2 separate regions of the Homo sapiens genome follow, and region 2 is linked to region 1. The links are contacts of gene promoters, found by promoter capture Hi-C in human tissues and cell types (Jung and others, 2019). All regions are on one chromosome and are shown on one strand. The core of a region is centred on a gene start or on the middle of the fragment in contact, and the rest is flanking DNA. Distances in the headings are between cores, read along the strand shown.

Region 1 (2,957 bases), core at 305-2,804:
CCATTTACTTAATGTGTCTTCTTGTAGGGCTGGGCGTGGTGGCTCATGCCTGTAATCCCAGCACTTTGAGAGGCCGAGATGGGCGGATCACCTGCGGTCAGAGGTTCGACACCAGCCTGGCCAACATGGCGAAACCCCATCTCTACTAAAAGTACAAAAATTATCTGGGCATGGTGGTGTGCGTCTATAATCCCAGCTACTCGGGAGGCTGAGGCAGGAGAATCGCTTGAACCAGGGAGGCGGAGGTTGCAGTGAGCCGAGATTGCGCCATTGCACTCTAGCCTGGGCAAAAAGAGCAAAACTCCCGTCTCAAAAAAAAAAAAAAAAAAAAAATTCCAAACTGGTCTTTGTAATGACTCACGGAGACCCTGCATGATCTGGCCTCTGTCCTAATCTCATCTTGTTATTGGTCTCCCCCTAAGTAGCCAAAGCCCCAGCCATGCCAGTACCCTTTCATTCCCCATCCCAGGGCCTTTGCACAGGCTGCTTTACCTCCCTGGAACACTCCTCTCCAGTTCTCCCTCTGTGAGTTTCAGCTTAAACGCCTCCTGCTCAGTAAGGCCTTCCCCCACTACCCTATCTAAAGTAGCCTCCAACCCTTATTCTCTACTTCATCACACTGCTGGTTTGCTTTCAAAGCACTCATCACAATTTAAGTATTTTACTTATTTACATGGTTTTTTTTTGTTTTTTTTTTTTTCATGTCTGGTTCACCTGCAAAATTACAAGCTAAGGACAGGGCCACATCTGTCTCATTCACTGCTATATCCCCAAAGTCAAGCACAGTCCTTGGCACATAACAGGTACTCAATAAATATTTGTTGAATTAATGAATGAATGGGTGCCCCACACTTGACTCTCAATATTCTAAGTGATACTATTCTTAAGGATCCCCACCCTTACTCCCAAGGCCCCCACCATCACATTCCTTTTCCTCGGGTCAGCCCAAATCTCCTACTTCCTTGTTCCCCCCATCTAATGATCCATTCCCCACCCCCACGATTGCCTTCTCTATTGGGGCTGTGCCCCCTCTACCCCCCACTTGGCGGCACCCACCCCAGGACTCCCCATTTGGTAGCGCCATCAATCACTCCCCCACCACATGTCACTGCCTGGTAGCGCCCTCTACAGGCCTCACGTTTGGTAGCGCCCTCATTCCAGTCCCCCTCTCGCCCCACAATTGGTGGCGCCCTCCTCAGTCTCTCCACTGAGTAGCACCCGCTCCGCACGCCACTCCTAGGTATCACTCTCCGAAGCCCCCTATGTCGCTCCTTGGCAGCGCCATCCTGGGCCTCCCCACGCCCGGTCACTTGGTAGTGTCTGCCCCGCGCCCAGGCTGCAGCTCCGCGTTGCTATGGTTCCGCGCGGGCCCGGCACCCCTCAGCCTGGGCCACTGTCCACCCTCCCTGCCAGGCGGGCGCACCTTTGAAGTAGTCATTGGCCTGAGTCTTGAGCTCCTCTGCCCGCTTCAGAGCTCCATCAGCCGGGGGTTCGTCCCGGGGGGGCTCAGCACACTCAGTCCTCTCGCCCTCCGCCATCGCCATGCCGCAAAGCGACCCCTACCCTGGCAACGGCCGCCAGCGGCACCCGGCCGAACCGTCGCGAAGGAGCGCCGGGTGGCCGCCGCCGCTGCCGCACAAGTGTCGTAAAGCGCGGGCCCTGAAGGCGCCCTTCACGCGCCTGCGCAGGTCCCTTTCGCCACAGAGCGCGCGGAGGACAAGGTGACCAGAGGTTCCCCAGACGGTACCCCTGGTAGAGAGAGCCAATAGGGAATGAGAGAAGGGGCGCGCGGGGAAACAGACCTGGTGTGGCCTCTCCTCCCAAAGTTACCGTGTTCCAAGGCTGTAAAAAGTTTCTCGGTTCTGAAAGTGGGATTTCCCCGCTGTCCTCTAGGGTTGGGGGGTGGGTTGTGAATGTCGCTGGCGGGTGTGGCTGTTTTGCAAGGCAGCGCCATGCCCTACGCGGAGCCGGACCCGGGCGTCGAGCCCTATTGTCGACTACCTGTGTGACCTTGAACAAATCTTCCCTTCCTCTCTAGGGTCTCAGTTACCCATCTCTGAAAAATTAGTGGTTTCTCAAGCCAAAAAGGGTCCAACCTTGAGGGTCAGTGTTTGAGTTTTTAACTGAAGGCACTCTGGATTTCAAGTCCTGAGCAAGGCTTAGAAGTGTGTTGCACCATCTCCTTTCTTCCTGTGTTCAGCTTCCCAAATCCTGAATCTTCAAATAAACTCTCCTGTTTGTGTTTTTACAGATTCTCTTGTCTGAGATCACAGCATTGATTGCATGCACTCTGCCTCCCTCCAGTTTACCCTTCACATTTTTTTTTTTTTTTTTTTTTTTTTGAGAGGGAGTCTCCCTCTGTCGCCCAGGCTGGAGTGCAGTGGCGCCATCTAGGCTCACTGCAACCTCCGCCTCCCGGTTTAAGCGATTCTTCTGCCTCAGCCTCCCAAGTAGCTGGGATTACAGGCGCCCGCCACCATGCCCGGCTAATTTTTGTATTTTAGTAGAAACGGGTTTCACCACGTTGGCCAGGCTGGCCTCGAACTGCCGACCTCAAGCTATCCGCCCGCCTCGGCCTCCCAAAGTGCTGGGATTACAGGCGTGAGCCACCGTGCCCGGCCGAGGGATCTTTCTAAGACATGATAAAACCATGGCACACTCTCGCTCCCAGGCTTCCATGGCCCCAGCACCCTTAGGAGAAAACCCAAACTCCTGATTAGGAGACCCTGAATAGTCTTAACCTCAGGCTGAATAGTCTAATATCCAGATTCCACCCCTTTGCCAATCCCCACCCGCCGTACACGCTTCCAGTCTGTCCTTTCTAAGCCCTCATGTAGCACTAAGTCCTGTAAGGCTCTGGATCCCCTCCTGGAAGCACACTCCTAAACCTATCTATCCCACTCCCAAACCTCTTGTTAGTCCAACCCCATCTCTCCTACTGGCCCCCAGCACAACCA
Region 2 (2,957 bases), core at 296-2,795, 280 kb before region 1:
CTGGAGCCCACATGTACAGGCACCCCCAGAGCAGGGCTGGGGGGTCCCTTAGGGAGCCACGGTGGGGCTGGAACTTGGGCGTCCATCCTGCTGGAAGCTGCGGGTGCCAGCTGGGCAAGGGTGATAGGGAGATGGGGGGGAGGGGCAAAGGGGTTGTGGTCACACACCGGGGTACAGAGGGCAAGACGGCAGCTGCCCACAGTCCAGTCCTTGGGTTGGACACATCCCTCCTGGCCTTGGACAAGAGACACCCGCACAGCCTCTCTCCTTGTTACAAAGACCAATCTGGGATGTGCTGCAGGCCGAGGCTGGCCACCAGGTCCCTGAGGCCCGTGTTACCCCACGCACAGAGAAGGAGGCTGAAGTCTACCAGCTCCCTCTCCTCACCTGGGACCATCTCGCAGCAAGAAAAAAGGTGGTCAGATGGAAACAGGAAGCCAAGTCGAATGGATCTGAGACCGTCCCCCTGAGAAACAGCGGGGCTCAGAGAGGGTCTCTGAGGTTTTATCTGGCCCTTTTGGGCTGGGAGGCTGCCTGGGAAGCCACCGACTCCGTGGGAAGGGAGACCCGTGAACGCTGTGCGGGTAGCGGGAACATGTGGGTCTGTCACACTGGCCCGAGGCTGCAGCGGTGGTGGCTTGGCTGTGTTTGGGGAGGGTGGGGGACACATGGCAGCAATGTTGGAGCTGTGGACAGCTTCCTGTGATCAAAATATGATTCCTGAAGGTCAAGGTCACCAGAGCTTGGCCTGGGGCCTAGGGGTGCTGTGCGAGAAGTCGGACGGTGGCCCAGTGCTACCTTTCCATCATGGGCCATGGAAGTCTCCCAAGCCTGTCCCTGACAACTGGACACCAAATACACCCCTTCATGCTTTCTTCTCGGGTCTCTGCAGGGTGAGCTGGGTGCCCAGGGACAGGCTCGAGGGACTGGCATGTCTCTCTCTGGCCAAGCCTCCTTCCTCAGCTTTCTGGAAGGAGTGAATTGTGTCCAGGGACCAGAACTCTCAGTGGTGTCTGGAAAACACTACATCAGAGAGGAATTTCCTGGTCATTTCTCAATCCCTGGGCAATGTCCTCAGCCCCGGGGCCTGGAGCCCAGAATAGATCCCAGAGGCCACCCTGAGACAGCCCAGGCCAAGACCACCCCACTGAAGCCTGGTCAACTGTGCTCTTCAGGTCCCTCCTAGAGGCCCCCTACTACCCCGGGAGGCTCCAAGCCTAAGTGATGGTGACTCAGGAATTCCCCACCCAGGCCAGAGAGGGAGACACTGGGGGAGGGAGGAGACCTGTGTGTGGGGAGGTGGCAGGTGGCTCAGTGATGGGAACCAAGAGAGGATGTGGGGAGGAGAGTGGAGGCAGCGATGGGAGATGGATGTCCTGGATTGGGCGGGTGGACGGGGAGTGGGGAGTGTGCCAGGGGGCCCTCTGGAGAACAGTGAGGGAGGGCGGGGCAGAGAGAGGAAATGAAAAAGCTGGGGTGAGCAGGCAAGCTGAGGAGGGTGGGAAGGAGGGAGGGACGGAGGGAGGAGGGAAGGAGAAGCTGACACACAGACCGACACAGGCAGCGAGAGACACGAGGAGCAAAGCAAGTGAAGGCACAGACGCACGGGACAGGAGAGCCTGGGCAAGACTGGAGAGGTGCGGTGAGGGGCTGGGGATGCAGCAACACAGAGCAGGAGCAGGTAGAGGGTGTGGGGTTAGAGGGAGAAAGGTACGGGGAGGACAAGGACAAGGGAGGGGACAGAGACAGGGAGATATCAGCAAGAGACCGAGAGACAGGGAGGGAAAGAACTGGCAATGCCCGGATGTTCTCTGTCTCTTTAATGGCAGAAACAGAGCTAGAGAAGGAAAGAAACAGGAGGTGGTGGGGGGGTGGTGGGTGTCAGGCATGGTGGCTCACACCTGTAATCTCAGCACTTTGGGAAGCCAAGGTGGATGGATCACCTGAGGTCAGGAGTTCGAGACCAGCCTGACCAACATGGTGGAACCCCGTCTCTACTGAAAATACAAAAATTAGCTGGGCGTGGTAGTGGACGCCTGTAATCTCATCTACTCCAGAGGCTGGGGCAGGAGAATCGCTTGAACCCAGGAGGTGGAGGTTGCAGTGAGCCGAGATCATGCCATTGCTCTCCATCCTGGACAACAGAGTGAGACTCTGTCTCAAAAGAAACGAAAGAAAAGAAAGAGAGAAAGAGAAACAGGAAGGTGGGGAGAGACAGAGAGAGATACTGGAGAAGCCAGAGGGGAGAGGACTGCATACCCGCACACACAGGAGAACTGGGGGTTGGCTGGGAGGCCCCAGCTGCCAAAAGGACTGGCCAGCAGGGACATCTGAGTGGGCTGGGTGGTGGGGGTAGCCCTGGCTCCCTCTGACCCCCCACCTTGGGAACCCTCCAGCCCAGACCTGGGATGGCGGATTCGTGCAGGAACCTCACCTACGTGCGGGGCTCGGTGGGGCCGGCCACCAGCACCCTGATGTTCGTGGCCGGTGTGGTGGGCAACGGGCTGGCCCTGGGCATCCTGAGCGCACGGCGACCGGCGCGCCCCTCGGCCTTCGCGGTGCTGGTGACCGGACTGGCGGCCACCGACCTGCTGGGCACCAGCTTCCTGAGCCCGGCCGTGTTCGTGGCCTATGCGCGCAACAGCTCCCTGCTGGGCCTGGCCCGAGGCGGCCCCGCCCTGTGCGATGCCTTCGCCTTCGCCATGACCTTCTTCGGCCTGGCGTCCATGCTCATCCTCTTTGCCATGGCCGTGGAGCGCTGCCTGGCGCTGAGCCACCCCTACCTCTACGCGCAGCTGGACGGGCCCCGCTGCGCCCGCCTGGCGCTGCCAGCCATCTACGCCTTCTGCGTCCTCTTCTGCGCGCTGCCCCTGCTGGGCCTGGGCCAACACCAGCAGTACTGCCCCGGCAGCTGGTGCTTCCTCCGCATGCGCTGGGCCCAGCCGGGCGGCGCCGCC

The links. Contacts are between HindIII fragments. The study calls those that stand out against the background at their distance.
Region 2: the fragment with the promoter of PTGIR here is called in contact with the fragment with the promoter of PPP5C in region 1 in 2 of the 25 tissues and cell types used here (mesenchymal stem cells and small bowel).

What each region holds. Positions count from the first base shown.
Region 1 is chr19:46,345,684-46,348,640 of GRCh38, reverse strand. It overlaps PPP5C (protein phosphatase 5 catalytic subunit), which reads right to left and starts at 1,554. Exons shown (of 13, transcript NM_006247.4): 1 at 1,424-1,554. The coding sequence starts at 1,544. RefSeq lists enhancers at 1,307-1,436, 1,537-1,716. The HindIII fragment of the contact is 31,019 bases long and covers 1-2,957 here.
Region 2 is chr19:46,623,677-46,626,633 of GRCh38, reverse strand. PTGIR (prostaglandin I2 receptor) reads left to right here and starts at 1,545. Exons shown (of 3, transcript NM_000960.4): 1 at 1,545-1,637; 2 at 2,397-2,957. The coding sequence starts at 2,409. RefSeq lists an enhancer at 830-1,330. The HindIII fragment of the contact is 28,599 bases long and covers 1-2,957 here.